Linked DNA regions of Homo sapiens: all the other regions are linked to region 2. Evidence: promoter capture Hi-C in 16 types of primary human blood cells and fetal thymus (Javierre and others, 2016). All regions are on one chromosome and are shown on one strand. The core of a region is centred on a gene start or on the middle of the fragment in contact, and the rest is flanking DNA. Distances in the headings are between cores, read along the strand shown. Region 1 holds the start of UBA1 (ubiquitin like modifier activating enzyme 1). Region 2 holds the start of ZNF41 (zinc finger protein 41). Region 3 has its middle 4.4 kb from the start of NDUFB11.

Region 1 (3,659 bases), core at 564-3,063, 290 kb after region 2:
AGGTAGATGCTGAGAAGAGGGTTTTCTACTGCAGTAGAAAACAAGAGGGCCATGGCCAGGCGCGGTGGCTCACGCCTGCAATCCCAGCACTTTGGGAGGCCGAGGCAGGTGGATCACCTGAGGTCAGGAGTTCGAGACCAGCCTGGGCAATATGGTGAAACCCCATCTCTACTAAAAATACAAAAAATTAGCCAGGCGTGGTGGTGCATGCCTGTAATCCCAGCTACTCGGGAGGCTGAGGCAGGAGAATCGCTTGAACCCAGGAGGTGGAGGTTGCAGTGAGCTGAGATGGCGCCACTGCACTCCAGCCTGGACGACATAGTGAAACAATTCTGTCTCGGAAAAAAGAAAAAGAAAAAGAAAACAAGAAGGCCTGTGGGGGGAAGGGACATCTGACAATGATCCTGGGGTCCAAGGAGGCTGAAAGCAGAAGCTGAAAACCCCTGACTGCAGACGTTAGGGACCTTGAAACGATCTGAGGGCAGATTCTGAGGCCTGATGTGAGGATAAGGGATCTGTGAAAAAAGCAGCTAGAACCCAGGTTGGTTTTTGAAGGCAGAGGCTGGGTCTAGGGTGGGGTTGGGGAGGCGAGTCTCTGATGGAAGGGGCTAGAAGCCAACGGGATCTGCAAGAGCAGATGCTCGCAGGGGCTCTTTGATGGAGGATTATGTATCCAAACAGTTCCTCCCTGGTATCTGGTGCACTGGAAGGCTCTGGGGGTTCAAGGTGCCTGATGGGGAAGATGCTGAGGCCTCTCAGTAGTCTCTGAATACTGGAAGTATAAAAAGCGAGAAATTCCATAAAAGTAGAGAAAGTGTCAAAGGACAGAGTCTAGGAATTGAAGAGTCTCTCAAGGCAGATGGTAAGAGGGGTCTCTGAGTAGAAATACTGGGCAGAGTCTCTGATGGAAGATGCTAGGGCCAGGGTGGGGTTAGGAGACCTGACGTGTGGCGAAGAGGGGCCCCCGACACAAAGGCCAGGCCCAAATGGCCTTTCACAGGGTCTAGTACCCCTGGAAGCTCTGAGCGCGGCTAGCATGTGTGTGGGATGGGGGTCTGAAGGAAAATGCTAAAGAGGACTCTCTTACAGAGATAAAGGGCCTATGGACCCCTTCGAGATCTAGCCCGTCCTGGAAGCCTTGAGGACAAATACTGAGAAGCTAGGAAGTGTCTCAAAGGAGATTCTGGGGCAGGTCTTTAACGGCATTCAATGGTGAGGAGCTCTGATCAGCAATGCTGATCCACGTAAATCTCTATTGGAGACTGGGGAAGAGTTCTGATCTGAGATACAAGGTTCGGGACGGAGTCAGGTCCCAGACTAGAGATGTTGGGCGTGAGTCTCTAAAAGCACATCCTGGGGGTCCGACTCCAAGGTCAGATTTTGCAACCAGAGGGAGCCGGAGTGGTCCTGGCCGGGGAAAGTCGGCCCCGCCCCAGGATCCGCTCCCCCTCCCTACTCCGCTGATTCCTGGCTCCCGAGTCACCGCGGCCCGCCCCGACAGCAGCGTGGCTCAGGGCCCTCCAGTGCCTCCCCGAAACCCCTGCCCAGGGCGAGGCGCAGTGAAAGGACGTTTTTTTACCAATGCCGGTTCCCCGGGTCGCGCCGCCGCCAACTCCTCAAGGAGCCGAAGCCAAGCCCGGCCGCCACCCTCCTCCTTCTCCTCCTCCCCGCCGCCTGGGCCGCCTAGAATCGCCGCTGCCGCCTTCTCCTCCCCCGGCCGTTGTGGTTGTGGTTGTCCCTGCCACCTCCTTACAGCCGAGCCGCCGACACAAGATGGCGGACGCTGAGCCTGGGGCCGGAACAAAACCTTGGGCCCCACCCCCAGAAACCCGGATGCAAGCGGGCCGCGCCTACTTATGAATCATGCATAAAGTTCCCTACTCGGTTGCGATTCATTCGGTTAGAAGTGGAACAGCACCACCTGGTGGACATTGTGGCAGTAACAACGAAAACAGGTAAAACAGAGGCCACGCCTCATGGAATGCGACTAATGAATGAATTGTTGCAGCCAGGCTGTCAAGGAAGCGAAGAAAAACCGTTAAGGCCATGCTTCCTGATTATAAGTTATGCATGAAGTTGAGTGGTTGGTAGACTAACAACCAGCAACCAGAAAGCAGATGTTAAAACATGGAAGCCACACACCCCCATTCATGAATAATGATGATCTTGCAGGGGCCCGGAAGCCAAGGAGACCCAGGCCACAACTTACTCATGAATAATGCATGAGGCCCAGTGGGTTGGAATAAAAGGGGCACGCCCGCCTATTGCTGCATCTAATACACTGTAAGCAGGGAAATGGGGCTGCTGCAGGGAAAACACACTCTCCCAGGTCCTGAATAATGAATTATGCTGCTGCAGTAGCTCAACCTGGAAACTCAGAGAGGTCAAGAAAGGTTCCACCCAATTTATGAATTATGCATAAGGCGAAGAAACACCCAAGACTGCCCTGCCCAGCAAATAGGGATTACGATGCTATAGCCAAGGCAAAGTGAGCACGCCTTCCTGTTCATGAATAATGAAAGATGTCACTGCAGTGCCACCAGAAAACCCAGGGGACGTGTACTCCCTGCCCCCACCTCCCCTCTCCACGCCTCCCTCCATTCTCCCCGCCTCAGGAACAAGGGCTGCCTTGGTCCAATCAAACCCAAACTCACTACATGTCTTTGGCAGGTGCCTCAGTTTCCACAACTGTAAAATGAGGATAGTAATGTGTTATTATGAAAATCAGATGACGCCTGTAATCCCAGCACTTTAGGAGGCCGAGGCGGGTGGATCACCTGAGGTCAGGAATTGGAGACCAGCCTGGCCAAGATGGTGAAACCCTGTCTCTACTAAAAATACAAAAATTAGCTGGGCATGTTGGCGGGCGCCTGTAATCCCAGCTACTGGGGAGGCTGAGGCAGGAGAATCGCTTGAACTCGGGAAGCAGAGGTTGCAGTCAGCCGAGATCGCGCCATTGCACTCCAGCTTGGGCGACAAGAGAGAAACTCCGTCTCAAACAAAAGAAAATCAGAGAATATAAATTATGGGATGAGCCTTAGAACATTGCTGGCACAAGGCACTGTTAAATTTTTAAAATATTATATATTAATATAAAAGTAATATGTTAAGATATGTAAATATATATTTACATTAATATAAAATTAGTTATGAATACTCAGCCACTAGAGAAACCCCCAACTTGGGCCACTGCTTCCCCATCCATAAAATAGGAATAACAGCAACTTACCTTGCGATGGAGTTTAAATGAAGAAATAAGTAGAAAGGGCTTAGACCAGTGCCTGGCACATGCTAAGTGTTATATTAGTAGTAGTAGTACTATCAAATGGCGGCGCAGGGGAATGGGGAGGGGAGACATTATGGCATCTGGTTAAGACTACAGATTGCGGAACTAGACCCCAATTTGAATCCCGGCCCAGCCACTCACTGATTGTGTGACCTTAGGCAAATTACTTAGCCTTCCTGTGTCCCAGTTTCCTTATCTATAAAGTGGGGGTAATAATGACCTACCTCCTAGGATTGTCGTGAAGATTAAATGCGCTAAGTAGCTAAACGAGTGTAAGCTAATCTTATCGTTATCCTCATACCCATTATTCAGGCTTACAAAACGATTTGCCAAAGATCACACAACTGGAAAGGATCGATGGGATTTGAATCCA
Region 2 (3,799 bases), core at 278-2,777:
TTACTGTGCCCAGCCCATATAAAATTTTTCTAATTGCACATTTAAAAAAACATAAAATGCAAAAGACAAAAAGAGTTTAGGGAAAAATACTGCAATGTAACTGACAGATGGTTAATATCCTTAATGGACAAAGATGTTAATATCTCTAATGTAATATCCCTAATGTACAGTGTAACTGACAGACTGTTAATATCCCTAATGTACAATGTAATTTGTACACTGTTTACAAATTGATACGAAAAGGAAAAATCACCCTAAAGAAAACTGGACAAAGGATATGAACATTTGCAAAAGAGAAAAGCCAAATGGCCAATAGACCAAAACAATCCTCAATTGCACAAAGTAGTCAGAAAAATACAAAATTAAAGACAGCATCAACATCCAGCGCTGGAGGGGATTTGCCTTAATGAACTTAATGATTTTGCTGGTAGGACTAGGAAACTTTATAATCTTTTGGGGGAAGGAATTTGGCTATATCTATTCAGTAATGAAACCTGCAGTTAATAATAAAACTTCAAAACATAGGAAGCAAAAATTGAATAGCACAAGGAAAACCTGCCAGTACAGTCTCTCTCTCTCCTCTCTCTCTTTCTCCCTGCCACATCACCCCCAGTTGACAAGCTGAAGGGAATTATCAGGAAACACACATTTTAAAAGGCCCAACGCACAAGCTTGAACCAATAGAGCCGCAGAGTACGATAAATCCAACAACTAGAAGATACAGTGTTTTCAATCAAGGCACAAAACCATTTTTGAAAGCTGGCCTCGTACTTGAGCCTTAAGGCAAGTTTCATCAAATTTCAAACTCAACGTTCTTGGGCCACAAGGCAAATGGGCTTAGAAATCACTAACACAGGGATTAACTTCTTGTTCGTTTGCGGAAATGCAAAATGGTGTTAAGACCTGTAACATTTTCTGCAGTCCCTCTAAATTCCTTCTTTGAATAATCGATTCCTAGAACAGGACGCGACGGACCAAGCTGGGTCAAACTGCCGACAGCTCCATTGGGCAGCATGTCCACCCCTGATGACCAAATCCCACCAAACGTGCAGCTGGCACTCGGCCGCCTTTGTTTCCTTCCCCTAGAATAAAACTCCGCTGCTTTCCCACGTTCCTGGAGCAGCAGCCGGAATAAAGCGCCCATGGCCTTGCCCTTTGAGTCTCGGAGGATGTTTGCCACTCCAACAATGGACTTTTAAATAATTCAGGGGTCAAAAGGCGTGTGTGGGGGGGGGAGAAAAGTTACAAATCAGCACTTGAAACCGAACACAAACAAAAATCAAACAAATCCGAACTAATATAACAAATCAAAACTTTGATCTTTAGAAGAAAACTTCAACCTTAATGCTTCCAGGAGGAAAGCAGAAAGGATAATGACTGAATTGTGAAAACGAGCCAAAATGTTCCACCACTGATGTCACACACACCTATGACTCCCTGCACAGATCCACGGTCCCGGGCGCTGAATCCCCGCAACCCTCTGCGCCCACAGAGGTTAAACTCTCGCTGCTGGCGACTTCCGCTTCCTGGCCTAAATCTGACACGCACGACTCCCCCCGCGGCAACTGCACAGGTTCGGTGACAGCCGAGACGCCGAGTGTTTCCCGCAGCCGGCCGGGGTCCAGGTCGGAAATGTAGCCAGTGGGGCCGCCAGGTGGGCTCCAGACGCGGTGGGCGCGGGGTCCCGGCCGCCGCGGGAGAGGGGTCGCCGCGTCCCACAGAGCAGTGCGGCGGCAGGGGCGGGGGCGGGTGCGTCTCGCGACCTGCTCCTGGGGGTGGGGGCTGGGCGATATTTAAAGAGGCGGAGGCTCCCCGGTAGGGACGGCCTGAGGCCGAGGGCACCCTGAGGGCGGAAGAGGCAAAGCGCCTCGCCCGCCGGGGCCTCGGAGGTGACTAACTCCTAGAGGCTGCGGCGGAGGGGAGAAGCCTGGTGGTACATTCCATGGCCCAGTGCCTCGGCCACTGGAAAATCCCACAGGGGTATATCGAGTAGGGGACCGCGGGCTCCGCGGCAGAAATGACCGCCCTTCCAAGATGGCGGCTCCCGTAGAGACACTCCCAAGGAGACAGCCATGTTCCTTGCCTGAGAGTCACTGAAGGAAATTGGAAAGCCCGCCTCTCCTTCGACGCACACGCGCACGCGCACGCACGCACCGGCGCGGTGTAAGGGCACCCACCAGGTGTAATTGTGGGCGAGCGGCCGCTTCGGAGCTGACACTAAGCATGTGCAGATCAAGTCCAGAAGCGCCGGGGTTCCTCGAAGCAGTTTTCAGGACTTAAGGCTCTGGGAGTGAGTTTAACAGACGGACTTAGGGCCACTTAAGCATTGAGATAAATATGGAGATGTTATGACATGGATCAAGCATTAAGATAATTATGGGGATGTTATGACATGGATTTTGTACTCGAAGATGCTCAGTAGGATGAGTAAGGAGGCTTCTCTGGGGTCATTTATAGGGAGGTGCAGAATGAGTGATTGGGGTTTGTGGGTGAGTGATGGGTCACTAGAGAAAGTTGATGGGTAGCCTGTGGGATGAGTGTTGGGGACACCGGAGTGAATAATAAGGGGGTCTGTGGGGTGAGTGATACAGGGTCTCTAGGGTGAGTGATAAGGTATATGTGAGATGAGTGATGAGAAGTCCGTGGGGGTAAGAAAGGGCTGTGCGGGGTGACTACTGGAGGTCTGTGAGGTGTGGGATGGGGTTTATTGGGTGATTGACCAAGGTTCCTGCTGGGTGAGTGATGCGTTTCTTTGGGACTAGTGATGGGGGGCTGTGGAATCAGATATGCAGCTTCCTGGGGTCAGTGATAGGTGGTCTTTAGGTCTGAGATGAGGTTATTTCAAAACCTACTTTTGACTTTGTTGGTCCTCCTGTATCTTTGTTTCTCTGTCATTAATATCTGCCCTTAACTTCGTTATTTCTTTTCTGTTTTTTAATTTTGTTCTCATTTTTAAAGTCCTGAATTTAATGCTTATCTTACTATCCAGTCATTTTATTTTATAATATAAACATTCAGTTTATAAATTTTTCTCTAAGAACACTTTAGCTCCGTGTCACATGTTTTGTTGTGGTTGCTGCTGTTCGGTTTTATTTTGTTTTGAGACAGGGTCTCACTCTGTCGCCCAGAGATGGAGTGCAGTGGCACGATCATGGCTCACTGCAGCCTCAACCTCCTGTGCTCAGTCGATCCTCCCAACTTAGCCTCCCAAGTAGCTGGAACTATAGGCATGTGCTGCCACACCCACTAATTTTTTATTTTGTGTAGACACGGGGTCTCACTATGTTGCCCAGGCTGATTTTTGTTTTAAAGATACAAGAATCTCTCTCTGTTGCCTAGGCTGGAGTGCAGTGAAACCATCATGGCTCATTGCAGCCTCAACCTCCTAGGCTCAAGTGACCCTCCCACCTCAGCCTCCCAAGTTGCTAGGACTACAGGCAGGCTTGCCCAGCTAATTTTTAAATTTTTTGTAGAGATTGGGGTCTTGCTATGTTGCCCAGGCTGGTCTTGAACTCCTTGGCCTCAAGCAATCCTCAAGTAGTCCTCCCACCTCATCCTCCCAAAGTGCTGGAACTACAGGCGTGAGCATCTGACCCACAAGTTTTGATATGTAGCATCTCCACTATAGTTTCCTTCTAATGTTTTCTAATTGCAGTTGCAATGTTCACTCTTACCACTGGGTTATTTAGATATGAGATTTTGATTTCCCAAAACGTTGACATTTTTGTTATTGATTTCTAAATTGTGGTTAGAGGCTGTCACCTGAGTGATCATTACGTGCAGGAATGATGCTTTTAAG
Region 3 (3,839 bases), core at 1-2,500, 340 kb after region 2:
GTGTCAAAAGCTTTAAAAGGGCTGCTGCAACCTTCCCTGGGTGTTCTGGCTGTATATTGCTGTGTAGCAAACACCTAAAAACTTAGTGGCTTAAAACCACAATTCAGTCTTCTCTTTCATGGCCCTGTGGGTTGACTGGGCTCAGTAAGGTGGCTCTTCTAGGGGTCTCAGGTAGTTGTAGTTAGATGGTGGCTGGGACTGGAGTCATCTGAAGGCTCAACTGGGCTGGGTATCTAAGATGGCTTCTTCACTCACATGTCTGGCACTTCAGTCCTCTTCCATATGGCCTCTCTCCAGCAGAACAGCCTTGACTTTTTTTTTTTTTTTTTTTTTGAGATGGAGCCTTGCTCTGTCACCCAGGCTAGAGTGCAGTGGCACAATCTCTGCTCACTGCAATCTCCACCTCCCGGGTTCAAGCGATTCTCCTGCCTCAGCCTCCAGAGTAGCTGGGACTACAGGTGCCCGCCACCATACCTGGCTAATTTTTGTATTTTTAGTGGAGACAGGGTTTCACCATGTTGGCCAGGATGGTCTCAATCTCCTGACCTCGTGATCCGCCCGCCTCGGCCTCCCAAAGTGCTGGGATTAGCGGTGTGAGCCACCGTACCCAGCCTTTTTTTTTTTTTTTTTAAGAAGGAGTTTCACTCTTATCACCCAGGCTGGAATGCAGTGGCACCATCTCGGCTCACTGCAACCTCTGCCTCCGAGGTTCAAGCAATTCTCCTGCCTCAGCCTCCCGAGTAGCTGGGATTACAGGCGCCCGCCCCATGCCCAGCTAATTTTTCTATTTTTAGTAGAGATGGGGTTTCACCATGTTGGCCAGGCTGGTTTAGAACTCCTGACCGTAGGTCATCCACCTGCCTCGGTCTCCCAAAGTGCTGGGATTACAGGCATGAGCCACTGTGCCCAGCCTAACCTCAGCTTCTTACATGACGGCTTGGGGCTCCTCTGGATGACAGCGTGGCACATGGGAAGAAATTGTTGGCAGCTATCTTTAGAGCCAGACCACCTCACTGGGACCTCCTACGTTTGAAGAGAAGCCAGGGAGACCAGGGATTAAGGTGGAGGGTGAGTGCAGGGCTTTCTCTTTCTAAGGGTGGGTGTTTTGTCTCCCCTCCCTGTCCTCTCTGCTTCTCTCTGGGCTTTAGGGTTTGCCCCTGTCCTGTGTGTTGGTGAGTCTGGATGCCTGTATTCCCTTCTGCCCCAAATCTGGATGACCTCTAACTCAAGATATGCATCTGTGTGTGTGTATGTGTGTGCACGTGTGTCTGTTTCTCTCCTCACCCCCTTTCCTCTCTTTGTCTTTCTGTGTCTCGAAATCAAGAAGTCTTTTCTCCCTTACTTTCTTCCTCTGTGGAAATAGGCTGTCTCCTTGCACCAGGGTTGCTGTCTCTCAGTCTGGCAGATGGAGTAGGGGACTTGTTCTGGCCCTGGCTGAGTTTGTTTCTTTCAAAAGCATCTCTGTTAAGTGTGGGCTTCCCTTCACCCTCTTGGCATCTCTTCCTTCCACAGCTCCCACATTCAAATCACCACCTCATATATTCATTGCTACCATCTCTGTGCTTGTCCCTGCCTGGGGCTTTGGAGGGTGTGGGAGCCTCCAGCCACTGGCTACAGGAAGAAAATCTGGCTTGCCAAATTCACCACTAGAGGCAATGCCCTACTTCTAGCTACTGGGTCTCAGGAGAACCCAAATCCACTTACATGTGGCTGAGGCGGGAGCCATATCTGCATGAGCCTTCCTGCAAGTGAGGAAGACCCTGAGGGCTTCCCCTGCCCCAGTGCTGCTTTGTGGGGCCAGTCTCCCAACTCGAGTGTACCCCAAAGCAGAGAGTACTAATGTATAAAGGGAGCACTCTCTACCCTCCCCCTGCAGTTAGTGGGACTATGGAAGTGAAAGGGGCATGTTACCCCAGCCACCAAGTACCTGGGTATATTGGTGCAATAACCCCTATAATAAGCCTCAGCCTGGTGCCTAGAGAGCACATTCTCTCCACTCACCACCCACCAGGATGTAAATTCCAGAAGGGCAGGTATTCACATATGTTCTGTTCACTTAGAGCAGTGACTGGCATGGTATGTGCTTGATAAACATTTGGTATTGATACCTCCTGTGTAGGTGACATCCCATACCCATCCTTGCCTTCTGGCTTACCCCCCTGAGGATGAACACTTCTCATTCCCTTCTGCTCTGCCTCATCAAGCTCCAGGGCTCTCCAGAAGCCTCCATTCTGGTCAAACAGAAGGCTGCACTTAGACTTAATCCTAAAATCCGAGCCCTGGCCCCATTCTGACAATACTACCTTCCCCTCCCTCATCATGGCCCAGCCACACTGACTGACTCTTTATAAATCATTGAATTAAAATACACATGCAGAAAAGCTCACAAAGCTCATTTACTTTTTATAAATTGGGCACACCCATATAACCAGCACTCAGGTCAAGAAACATACTTTGAGAGGCAGAGGCAGACTGGTGTCTCAAGCTTGGGAGTTTGAGACTAGCCTGGGCAACATGGTGAAACCTCGTCTCTACAAAAAATACAAAAATTAGCGAGGCATGATGGTCCCAGCTAGTAAGGGTGCTGAGGTGGGAGGATCGCTTGAGCCTAGGAGGCAGAGGTTGCAGTGAGCCGAGATCGCACCGTGCCACTACACTCCAGCCTGGGCCACAGAGCGAGACCCTGTCTCAAAAACAAAAAGACAAACAAAAATCACAACATGGCAAACCCCAGAAGCTCCCTTCAGGTCTTCCCTCTTCCCCACCAAAGGTAGCCACTCTCCTGACTTCTAACAATGTTAGGTTACTTTGGTCTGGTTTTGTGTCCAGTTTCTTTCATTCTGTACAACGTTTGTGAGACTGATCAACATCGTCACATACATGAGTAGTTTGTTCATCCTCATTGCTGTATTCCATTTCATTGTATGAACAGACCAGACTTTAGCCATTCTTACGTTGCTGAGCATTTGAGTTGTTTTATATTTGGGGCTATTAAGAATTTTTTTTTCTTTTGAGACAGAGTCTTGCTCTGTCGCTCAGGCTGGAGTGCAGTGGTGCGATCTTGGCTCACTGCAACCTCCACCTCCCTGGGTTGGAGTGATTCTCATGCCTCAGCCTCCCGAGTAGCTGGGGTTATAGGCGTGACCCACCAGGCCCAGCTAATTTTTGTATTTTTAGTAGAGACAGTGTTTCACCAGGTTGGCCAGGCTGATCTCAAACCCCTGATCTTAAGTGATCCACCTACCTTGGCCTCCCAGAGTGCTGGGATTACAAGCATGAGCCACTGTGCCTGGCTAAGAATAATTCTGTGAACATTCTTGTACACATCTTTTGATAGACATATGTACTCATTTCTTGGGTATATAACCTAGGAATGGAATTGCTAAGTCATTGCGTAGACATGTGACCAATCAGCTTCAGTAAATCATGCCAATTTTCCAATCTACACTTTCCCAGAGTTGACTCCCCATCATTCGGCATTTCCCATCTTTTTCACTGCAGCCATTCTGGCGGATGACTAACCTTTTTTTTTTTCTTTTCTTGAGACAGGGTCTCACTCTGTTGCCCAGGCTGGAATGCAGTGGCATGATCTCGGCTCTCTGCAACCTCCTTCTCCCAGGTTCAAACGATTCTCCTGCCTCAGCCTCCTGAGTAGCTGGAACTACAGGCACCCACCACCACGCCCGGCTAATTTTGTTTGTATTTTTTTTTTAGTAGAGACAGGGTTTCACCATGTTGGCCAGGCTGGGGATGACTGACCTTTTAAGGACCACATTGGGATGAAGAGGGAGGGAGTGCCTACTGAGTGCCAAGCCCCAACAGTGTGCCAGGCACTGGCG

What was found. The method cuts DNA at HindIII sites, captures the fragments that hold promoters and counts their contacts. A CHiCAGO score of 5 or more calls a contact.
Region 1: a contact is called between a fragment that was not itself captured here and the fragment with the promoter of ZNF41 in region 2, in 17 of 17 cell types (fetal thymus, naive CD4 T cells, non-activated CD4 T cells and 14 more). The highest score is 18.4, in fetal thymus.
Region 3: a contact is called between a fragment that was not itself captured here and the fragment with the promoter of ZNF41 in region 2, in 2 of 17 cell types (non-activated CD4 T cells and monocytes). The highest score is 5.5, in non-activated CD4 T cells.

The regions. Positions count from the first base shown.
Region 1 is chrX:47,191,945-47,195,603 of GRCh38, reverse strand. UBA1 (ubiquitin like modifier activating enzyme 1) reads right to left here and starts at 1,775. Exons shown (of 26, transcript NM_003334.4): 1 at 1,580-1,775. RefSeq lists silencers at 1,503-1,652, 1,747-1,935 and an enhancer at 1,693-1,872. The HindIII fragment of the contact is 5,053 bases long and covers 1-3,659 here.
Region 2 is chrX:47,480,950-47,484,748 of GRCh38, reverse strand. ZNF41 (zinc finger protein 41) reads left to right here and starts at 1,527. Exons shown (of 5, transcript NM_001324144.2): 1 at 1,527-1,654. It overlaps LINC01560 (long intergenic non-protein coding RNA 1560), which reads right to left and starts at 2,033. Exons shown (of 1, transcript NR_126059.1): 1 at 1-2,033. RefSeq lists a silencer at 1,513-1,802 and an enhancer at 1,793-2,092. The HindIII fragment of the contact is 4,892 bases long and covers 674-3,799 here.
Region 3 is chrX:47,138,334-47,142,172 of GRCh38, reverse strand. No RefSeq gene overlaps it. Among named protein-coding and RNA genes, the nearest start is that of NDUFB11, 4.4 kb to the left of the region's middle. The HindIII fragment of the contact is 2,475 bases long and covers 13-2,487 here.